Linked DNA regions of Homo sapiens: region 1 is linked to region 2. Evidence: promoter capture Hi-C in 16 types of primary human blood cells and fetal thymus (Javierre and others, 2016). All regions are on one chromosome and are shown on one strand. Each heading gives the region's core, a stretch centred on a gene start or on the middle of the fragment in contact. The rest is flanking DNA. Distances are from core to core; before and after follow the strand shown.

Evidence for each region. The method cuts DNA at HindIII sites, captures the fragments that hold promoters and counts their contacts. A CHiCAGO score of 5 or more calls a contact.
Region 1: a fragment that was not itself captured here is called in contact with the fragment with the promoter of MAN2B1 in region 2 in 1 of 17 cell types (M0 macrophages); the score reaches 5.0 in M0 macrophages.

What each region holds. Positions count from the first base shown.
Region 1 is chr19:11,579,600-11,584,966 of GRCh38, reverse strand. LOC124904638 (a long non-coding RNA gene) reads right to left here. Exons shown (of 2, transcript XR_007067140.1): 2 at 1,303-1,550. Among named protein-coding and RNA genes, the nearest start is that of ACP5, 4.6 kb to the right of the region's middle. RefSeq lists enhancers at 873-932, 943-1,082, 2,984-3,183 and a silencer at 2,683-2,848. The HindIII fragment of the contact is 1,557 bases long and covers 3,047-4,603 here.
Region 2 is chr19:12,663,178-12,668,098 of GRCh38, reverse strand. MAN2B1 (mannosidase alpha class 2B member 1) reads left to right here and starts at 1,357. Exons shown (of 24, transcript NM_000528.4): 1 at 1,357-1,556; 2 at 2,294-2,396; 3 at 2,574-2,747; 4 at 3,114-3,307; 5 at 4,264-4,396; 6 at 4,637-4,782. The coding sequence starts at 1,398. It overlaps WDR83 (WD repeat domain 83), which reads right to left and starts at 1,292. Exons shown (of 11, transcript NM_001099737.3): 1 at 1,107-1,292. It overlaps WDR83OS (WD repeat domain 83 opposite strand), which reads left to right. Exons shown (of 4, transcript NM_016145.4): 4 at 1-26. RefSeq lists a silencer at 1,215-1,494 and enhancers at 1,745-1,874, 1,895-2,024, 2,085-2,134, 2,675-2,724, 1,791-2,738 and 2 more. The HindIII fragment of the contact is 17,009 bases long and covers 1-3,817 here.

The DNA.
Region 1 (5,367 bases), core at 2,576-5,075, 1.1 Mb after region 2:
CTTGGGAGGCTGAGGCAGGAGAATGGCGTGAACCCGGGAGGCGGAGCTTGCAGTGAGCCAAGATCGCGCCACTGCACTCCAGCCTGGGTGATGGAGCAAGACTCTGTCTCAAATAATAATAATAATAATAATTTAGATGGGGTCTCACTGTGTCACCCAGGCTTGTCTCAAACTCCTGGGCTCCAGTGATCCACCCACCTCAACCTCCCAAAGTGCTGGGATTACAGGTGTGAGCCACCACACCCGGCCTATTATTATTATTTGAGACAGTCTTGCTCTTGTCGCCCAGGCTGGAGTGCAGTGGCACGATCTTGGCTCACTGCAACCTCTGCTTCCCGGGTTCAAGCGATTCTCCTGCCTCAGCCTCCCGAGTAGCTGGGATTACAGGTGGCTGCCACCACGCCCAGCTAATTTTTTTTGTATTTTTAGTAGAGATGGGGTTTCACCTTGTTGGTCAGGCTGGTCTCAAACACCTGACCTCAGGTGATCCGCCCACCTCAGCCTCCCAAAGTGCTGGGATTACAGGCGTGAGCCACTGCTCCTGGCCCTGTCTTTTAATTTTTAAAGGGTAGGGGGCACCATGACCCATCTTTGCCCACCTAAACCACCTATTCAGCAGCCCATGCCCCGCAGCCCACAGCTGGGGGACATCATGCAAAATCTAAGTCAGATCTGTCCCTCTGATCAGAACCCTCTGTGGCTCCCACCTTACCCAGATAAAAGCCCCCTTCCCTGCAGCCCCCAAGAGCACACGCAACCTGCCCCACCCACACCCTTCTCTGTTCCTTGCCCTTGACCTTGCAGACTCAACCTTCCGGATTCACTTCCCCCTTGCTCACTCTGCTCCAGCCACAAAAGCCAATTTTTGGTTCCTCAAATCAAACTAACTCATGACAGCATTTTGAATTTTGAAGCCTTGGGGCCCCGAAAAAGTCCATCTTTTTTTTTTTTTTTTAAGATCGAGTCTCACTGTGTTGCCCAGGCTGGAGTGCGGTGGTGTGATCTCGACTCACTGCAACCTCTGCCTCCCTGGTTCAAGCAATTCTCCGGCCTCAGCCTCCCAAGTAGCTGGGATTACAGGTGCTCGCTGCCATGCCCAGCTAATTTTTTTGTATTTTAGTAGAGAAAGGGTTTCACCTTGTTGCCTAGGCTGATCTTGAACTCCTGAACTCAGGCAATCTGTCTGCCTCAGCCTCCCAAAGTGCTGGGATTACAGGCGTGAGCCACTGCGCCCGGCCCAAAAATCCATCTTTGTGGGTTCCTTTGTAAATGTGTAGTCAATTTAGAAATTTAGAAACACGGTTTCCCTTAAGCCTTTATTTAGTTACAATCACAACTAACATGTTACTTATACACCTGGCAAAGTGAAACATCAAAAAATTAATTCAGGGCCTGGCCTCAGGCCTGTAATCCCAGCACTTTGGGATGCCAAGGCAGACGGATCACTTGAGGTCAGGAGAATCGCTTGAACCTGGGAGACGGAGGTTGGGACGAGCTGAAGATCACACCACTGCGCTCCAGCTTGGGTGACAGAGTGAGTGAGACTCCATCTCAACAAAAAGAAAAAGAAATATCACTTTAAGAGGTCATTGGATGCATATTTGGGTCCGTTTATAAGTTTAGTGGATTGAAATTAACATTTTACATTTTATAAGTGTGATGCATTTTATTCTATACTCTTTTACTACTATAATAATAATTATTATTATTAATTTTTTTTTTGAGATGGAGTCTCGCTCTGTCACCCAAGCCGGATGGAGTGCAGTGGCGCGATCTTGGCTCACTGCAAGCTCCACCTCCCAGGTTCATGCCATTCTCCTGCCTCAGCCTCCCGAGTAGCTGGGACTACAGGCGCCCACCACCACGCCCAGCTAATTTTTTTGTATTTTTAGTAGAGACGGGGTTTCACCGTGTTAGCCATGTTGCTCTCGATCTCCTGACCTCGTGATCCGCCCGCCTCGGCCTCCCAAAGTGATGGGATTACAGGCGTGAGCCACTGCGCCCGGTCAATTATTATTATTTTTTAGAGACAGTGTATCAGCTCTGTCACCCAGACTGGAGTGCAGTGGTGCAATCATGGCTCACTGCAGCCTCGACCTCCTGAGCAATGCTCCCACCTCAGCCTCCTGAGTAGCTGGGCTACAGGTGCACACAACCACGCCCAGCTAATTTTATTTTTAAGAGATGAGGTCTCTACAAAAAGTGTTGGGATGACAGGTGTGAGCCACTGTGCCAGCTTATTCTTTAATCTTTTAATTTATTATTATTATTTTTTGAGACAGAGTCTTGCTCTACCACCCAGGCTAGAGTGCAATGGTGCGATCTCAGCTCACTGCAACCTCTGCCTCCCGGGTTCAAGCGATTCTCCTGCCTCAGCCTCCTGAGTAGCTGGGACTACAGGCACGTGCCACCACACCCAGGTAATTTTTTGTATTTATAGTAGAGATGGGGTTTCACCATGTTAGCCAGGATGGTCTCGATCTCCTGACCTCTTGATCCACCCGCCTCGGCCTCCCAAAGTGCTGGGATTACAGGCATGAGCCACTGCACCTGGCCTATTCTTTAATCTTTTTAAATGTCTCCACCAAGCAAACACCTTGAGAAGTCCTTATCAGTTATTAAAAATCTACAATGCAAACATACAAATAAAAGGAGAACAGTAAGTTCTCTTAAACATTCTGATACTACTTCTAAACTTAGCCAATAAACTGAGAATGAATGTTAATTTTTTAAATAAACAGGCCAGGGGCAGTGGTTCACACCTGTAATCCCAGCACTTTGAGGGGCTGAGTTGGGAGGATTGCTTGAACTCAGGAGTTCAAGAGCAGCCTGGACAAGGTGACAAATCCCTCTCTCTACAAAAAATACAAAAATTAGCTGGGTGTGGTGGTGTGTGCCTGTAGTCTCAATCCCCAGGAGGCCAAGGGGTGTGGGAGGATCCCCTGAGCCCAGAAGGTCGAGTCTGCAGTGAGCCGTGATCGCATCACTGGTCTCCAGCCTGGGTGACTCTGTTTTAGAAAAAGAAAAAAGAAAGAAAAAAAAAGCTTTCATTAACTGAAGACAGACTGAAAGCAAGAGAAACTGAAAGCAAGATAAATGAGTGGGTGGTTTTCTCAAGCACTGGTAAGTGCTGCAGAGAAAACTACAGCAACAGGAGAGTCAATGATGGGGGCAGGGTGGTGCATTTCAGATAATTTCAGATAAATTATCTTTTTCTTTTTTTTTTTTTTTTTTTGAGACAGAGTCTCACTCTGTCACCCAGGCTAGAGTACAGTGGCACGATCTTGGCTCACTGCAACCTCCGCCTCCCAGGTTCAAGCAATTCTCCTGCCTCGACCTCCTGAGTAGCTGGGACCACAGGTTTGTGCCACCACGCCCAGCTAATTTCTGTATTTTTAGTAGAGATGGGGTTTCACCATGTTGGCCAGGCTGGTCTCGAACTCCTGGCCTCAAGTGATCCACCCGGCTTGGCTTCCCAAAGTGCTGGGATTACAGGCGTGAGCCACCACGCCCAGACTCATTTCAGATAAATTAAAGGAACTTGAACACAATGGGTGACCTCAGTATCTGACTAAGGAAGACCCTTCCAGGCAGGGAGAACAGAAAGTGCCAAGACCCTGAGGCCAGAGTGTATCTGAGACAGTCAAGCAATGCGGAGGAGGTCAGAGGAGCAAGAAACAGGGAAAGCAGGATTGGCAGGAGGAAGGAAGGGAAGGGATTGGGTAGAGACAGCAGCGGAGAACAGGACCTGGATGTATTGGCAACAGGAGGAACTCACTCGTGGGGTTGTTGACATCTGAGATTGACACTGGTGTTGGGAAAATAGGAAAGGGTGGAGGTGGAGGGAGATTCTGAGTCACAGCCTGATCTAGCTCCACAGAAAATCAGCAGAAGAGAGTTCTCCTGGGTGAATGGAGAGAGAAGAGCTTATTCAGCACCCTGGAGGAGACCAGAGAGAGATAGCCAAGAACGCACAGGTTTTATTACATGCTCTGTGCAAGATCAGGTTTATTTTTTTCATTGTGCTCTCTCTCTCTCTCTCTCTCTCTCTCTGAGACAAGAGTCTAGCTGTGTTGCCCAGGCTGAAGGTCAGTGGTGCATTCGTAGCTTATTGCAGCCTCAAACTCCCAGGCTCAAGCGATCCTCCACCTCAGCTTCCTGAGTAGATGGAACCACAGGTGTGCACCACCATGCCTGGCTAATTTTTTTTTTTTTTTTTTTTTTTTTTGTAGCAATGTGGTCTCGCCACGATGCCCAGGCTGTTCCTGAACTCCCGGGCTCAAGCGATCCTCCCACATTGGCTGGGTTTACAGGCCTGAGCCACCATGCTTGGCCAGCTTTTTCAATTTAAAAAATATAGAAAGTGTTAATACAAATTAAAAAGTTATAAAATAGTGCCAATAGTATCCCATTTTTCCGAAGACAAACATAGGCAGAGAAAAATTAATGGATACTGTCTCTCTGGGCAGGGGTATTACTGGCTATTATAATCTTTTTCTTCGTGCATTCCAGAATTTACCAACTTTTCTACAAAGATCATGTAGCACAATAAGATAATAAACATAATTTTGTGTGATCTCAAAATACAGGAAGCATAGAAGCTTCCAAAACACGCCTGTACCCACCACGTGAAGAAACAGATGTTAACATTTGGTCATAATTGCTTCAGATTTCTTTCTTTTTTTTTTTTTCTGTTTTTTTTTTGGGGGGGACAGAGTCTTGCTCTGTCGCCCAGGCTGGAATGTAGTGGCATGATATTGGCTCAGTGCAACCTCCTCCTCCTGGGTTGGAGTGCAGTGGCATGATCTCAGTTCACTGCAACCTCTGCCTCCTGGGTTCAAGAGAGCACCTCCAGCTAATTTTTGTCTTTTTAGTAGAGACAAGGTTTTGCCATGTTGCCCAGGCTGGTCTGGAACACCTGACCTCAAGTGATCCGCTCACCTCGGCCTCCCAAAGTGCCAGGATTACAGGTGTGAGACACCACACCGGCTAAATAATAAGTTTTTAAAAAAACAGGAGACTGGCCAGGCATGGTGACTCACGCCTGTAATCGCAGAACTTTGGGAGGCTGAGGTGGGCAGATCACCTGAGATCGGGCATTGGAGACCAGCCTGGCCAACATGGAGAAACCCCGTCTCTACTAAAAATACAAAATTAGCCGGGCGTGGTGGTGCGTGCCTGTAATCACAGCTACTAGGGAGGCTGAGGCAGGAGAATCGCTTGTACCCGGGAGGCGGAGGTTGCGTGAGCCAAGATTGCGCCACTGCACTCCAGCCTGGGCAACCAGAATAAAACTGTCTCAAAAAAAAAAAAAACAAAAACAGGCCGGGCGCGGTGGCTCACGCCTGTAATCCCAGCACTTTGGAA
Region 2 (4,921 bases), core at 108-2,607:
TGTTGTTAATAAAGTTTTTCACTCTGGCTGTCAGCCTCTTCTGTTCAGTGGGGTGTTCCTCCTACCTGGCGGGAAGGGCTCTAGCCCCATAGGCCTGGTGTGGGGCCCCAGTCTGGAGGCTTCTGGCTGTTCATTTGCTTACTTCATAAACCTTGTGTCTTAAGTCAGGTGCTAGGGACAAGACAGTGACTTCTGCCCTCTGGCAACTCACCAGATGGCCCTGCTGACCTAGATAATCTAGGCTTTGGTTTCCTTTTTTTTTTTTCCTTTTTAAGAAAGAAAATGGTCTTGATCTGTCATGCAGGCTGAGTGCAGTGGCACAATCTATGTTCACTGCAGCCTCAAACTCCTGGGCTCAAGCAATCCTCCCACCTCAGCCTGCCACGTAACTGGGACCACAAATGCGTGCTACCATGCCCAGTTAATTCTTGTTTTTTTTGAGACAGAGTTTTGCTCTTGTTGCCCAGGCTGGAGGGCAATGGCATGATCTTGATCTCGGCTCACTGCAACCTCCGCCTCCCAGGTTCAAGTGATTCTCCTGCCTCAGTCTCCCAAGTAGCTGGGATTACAGGCATGTGCCACCATGCCCAGCTAATTTTTGTATTTTTACATTTTGTGTAAAATTACAAATTTTGTGTTTTCAAACCCGTCTCTACAAAACAACCCATGTTGCCCAGGCTGGTCTCAAACTCCCAGGCCCAAGTGATTCACCAGCCTGGCCCTCCCAAAGTGCTGGGATTGCAGGCTTGAGCCACTGCGCCTGCCCTGGGCTTTGTTTTCTTATCAGAGAATGAACTGGTAGGAATTGGGAAAGGCATGAAAGACTCGGGGTCCTTCCCCACTTGTCAGACCCTCTTTTCTCTCCGGAACACCCAGGGATCCTTCTCAACCAGGCTGGATCCCATCCCTGGTACTCCAGGGGTATTTACCCAACGTCCCAATCCCCACAGTATAGGACTCTTCATCAGATCCTCCTCTTAGGCAAGCTAGGTCCTTCCAGGACCCTAGCGCTGAAGGTCCATGGGACGGACACCCTGGATTCCCATGGACACACTACACCGGCTAGGAAAACCCGGCCCCCTTAGGAAAAGCACTTCTGCTCCTACCGGCATTAAGAGGCATTCCGTCTTGGAATTCCGGCATTAAGAGGCATTCCGTCTTCATAGCCCGTGAGACGCCAGTGTCACCTTTAGCCCAACCAGTGCCCTGAGGGTGGCATTTTCCTACCTTCCTGTAACGACCCCCGGGATTGCCCAGGGCTACAGCCTCTCTCCCGTGAGCCTCCAGACCGCGCCCTGGCCCCGCCCCCCACCCCGATTGGCCCGGCCGGGTCTGGGGGCGGGGCGTTTGCCCGGCCTTTCCAGGGCCGGGGAACCCCAGGAGGAAGCTGCTGAGCCATGGGCGCCTACGCGCGGGCTTCGGGGGTCTGCGCTCGCGGCTGCCTGGACTCAGCAGGCCCCTGGACCATGTCCCGCGCCCTGCGGCCACCGCTCCCGCCTCTCTGCTTTTTCCTTTTGTTGCTGGCGGCTGCCGGTGCTCGGGCCGGGGGATACGAGGTGAGTGGGGCCTCCGAGCTGAAACGTACAGGAGGCAGAGTGAAACCCAGAATACAGTCTAGAGGTGTGGGTGGGTCTGTCCTGTGGGTGTCTAGTGAATGGCTGATGATATGACAGTGTGGTCTGAGTGCGTGCTTTGTGTCATTGCGAGGTCTGGCTGTGCGCATCTGAGTATAGGACTGTGTCTGATTGTACCTGCCTCCGTGTCTCCGGGATGCTTGCCTAGACTTTGTCTGCACTTAACTGTGGGATTGGAGGGGCAGGAGGTGGCAGGGGGTGAGCAGTGTATGTGTGGGGGGAGGTGCTGGCTGAGAGCTGGGACTCTGGAGTCTGCCTGAAATTCCAGCCTAGCTCTTACACTTCCTGAGTGTGTGACGTTGGGCAAGTCACCTATCCTCTCTAAGCCTCAGTGCCTTCATCTGGAAACTGGGGATAACATCACCCCACCTCCCACGGTGGCCGTCTGCTGTCGGCAAATGCTGAACAAACATCAGCTACTTCTATTATTATTTTCCCGGAGTGTGAATGAGAGCTGCCCTGTGGGGTTGTGCAAAGTGGAGTTGTATCTATGAGCACAACTATGTATGTGTGTGTCCTGCCTGGGAGGGCCTGGCCTCCTCTGCACATAGGCGAGATCAGGCCTCTCTGAGTCACTCACCTCTAGATCAAGACTTACTCTGCAGCCCCCGACCTCGGGGGTTATTGACAAGGTATGTGTGTTTGGGGTCCCTGTGCAGACATGCCCCACAGTGCAGCCGAACATGCTGAACGTGCACCTGCTGCCTCACACACATGATGACGTGGGCTGGCTCAAAACCGTGGACCAGTACTTTTATGGAAGTGAGTAGAGGATGGGGACTGGTCCCTGGGATCCCCATGGTCCCTGTAATCCCTCTGGGTCCTGGACATTAGGGTGGGGCCAGTGCTACCCTAATATCCAGGGTTTGGGCTCCTCTGTCTAGGAATAACCCCCTTGGCTCTGCTGTTCCCTGAGAGCCTTATCCCTGTTATCCACAGTCAAGAATGACATCCAGCACGCCGGTGTGCAGTACATCCTGGACTCGGTCATCTCTGCCTTGCTGGCAGATCCCACCCGTCGCTTCATTTACGTGGAGATTGCCTTCTTCTCCCGTTGGTGGCACCAGCAGACAAATGCCACACAGGAAGTCGTGCGAGACCTTGTGCGCCAGGGTGAGCCTACCCCAAGGAAGTGAAAAGAGGAAGCCCAGCCCAGCTTCTGCTTCTGCATCTCTGGTTTCTGAGATTTGTCATGCCACGTGCAAGCTGTATAACATGCGTGTCGCTCCGCCTGCCTGGACTCTCCATTTGGAGACCTCCTATACATCCCACAAAGCCCCACCTGCTGTGCATCCTCTGGGAAGCCTGCCATGCAGGGGGCCTCTTTCCCATATCTGGGAACTATGGCCTGGGAGCGACCCCTCTTGTCCTTCCGCCAGAAATGTGTACACAGGCAGGCTTTCACATTCCCAGTATCACCCACCCTACTCCCACTCCTGGCTCTGACCGCTGACCCTGACCTTGCCTGTCCTGGCACAGGGCGCCTGGAGTTCGCCAATGGTGGCTGGGTGATGAACGATGAGGCAGCCACCCACTACGGTGCCATCGTGGACCAGATGACACTTGGGCTGCGCTTTCTGGAGGACACATTTGGCAATGATGGGCGACCCCGTGTGGCCTGGCACATTGACCCCTTCGGCCACTCTCGGGAGCAGGCCTCGCTGTTTGCGCAGGTGCGACCCGGGACCTCTCTTGGGCCCACTTCTTCACTCACTCTGGCTCCTCCCTCGCCCAGTCAAACCCCGCCCTCTCCCTGCAATCTCACAAGGACCAGGCCCAGGCCTAGGCCTGTTGAAGCCCTGCCCCTTGAGTGAGCCGTAAAGCCAGTGGCTTTTGAGCTCTGGCCTCAGCCGGCTATGCCCAGCCCAGGCTGACCCAGCTCCGGCTGGCTCCGCCCTCTCCCCTAATAGGCCCCTCTTGGTGTTCTGGCCCCACCCACTAGCTCGGGTCCTGGCTCCTCCCTAAACCGGGTGGCAAGTGGATGCCTAGGCTGCCTTAAAAACAGGTTCATTACCTGTGCTCAGACCCCATCCATCCTCAGGCTGTGGAAGGGGGAACCTCATTCCTGGAGTCAGGCCTGCTCTGCGCTTTGACAGTGCTGGGGAGGTGAACCTGGGTTCTGATGTTGGACCCGCCCTCTCCCTGCTAGCCCAAGGTGGTGAGTTCTGAAACTTCCCCAAGCTTGGAAATAAGCTGGAGGCCTCTCTGTTTCAGCCCTACGTGTTTTTGTTTTTGTTTTTTGAGACAGGGTCTTGCTGTCATCCAGGCTGGAGTGCAGTGGTGCAATCCTAACTCACTATAGCCTCAATCTCCCGGATTCAAGCGATTCTCCTGTCTCAGCCCCCCTAGTAGATGAGACTACAAGAGCGCACCACTACGCCTGGCTAATTTTTAAATTTTTTGTAGACAGTCTGCCCGTGTTGTGCAGGCTGGTCTCAAAAACTCCTGGGTTTAAGTGATCCTCCTGTTTTGGCCTCCCAGAAGGCTGGGATCATAGGCAAGAGCCACCACATCGACCTAGCACTGCTTTTTAACCTGTGCTCTGACCTGCCCCTCCCAAGCAGAGGGGAGTTTGGTGGTGAGAGGGCTGGGCACTAATTCACACTGCCTTTTCCTCCCTCATCCCCAGATGGGCTTCGACGGCTTCTTCTTTGGGCGCCTTGATTATCAAGATAAGTGGGTACGGATGCAGAAGCTGGAGATGGAGCAGGTGTGGCGGGCCAGCACCAGCCTGAAGCCCCCGACCGCGGACCTCTTCACTGGTAGGGGGCTTGGTGAGGGCAGGGCCAGCCATGGTGCCACACACTCAGAAGGGCCCTGGGCTTGATATCTGCTCTGTTGTCACTGTCCTGGAATTCCTATAGTCTGGGAACAAAGGCCCTGCATTTCCTTTTGCATTGGGACACAAATTCTGAAGCCCATCCTGGGTGGGACATGGCCGGCTTTGAAACCAGGGAAGGTCTGGGTGATGGGCCACCCCTTGAACTTGGTGTGACCTGCAGGTGTGCTTCCCAATGGTTACAACCCGCCAAGGAATCTGTGCTGGGATGTGCTGTGTGTCGATCAGCCGCTGGTGGAGGACCCTCGCAGCCCCGAGTACAACGCCAAGGAGCTGGTCGATTACTTCCTAAATGTGGCCACTGCCCAGGTAACCCTGGTGTCCAGAACCTTCGAGTCCGGTATATACAATACAATGAGCTCTTTCCATGGTACAGGCATCCCCTAACACGTTCTCCTTATTTTTAATTTTTTTGAGACAGTCTTACTCTGTCACCCAGGCTGGAGTG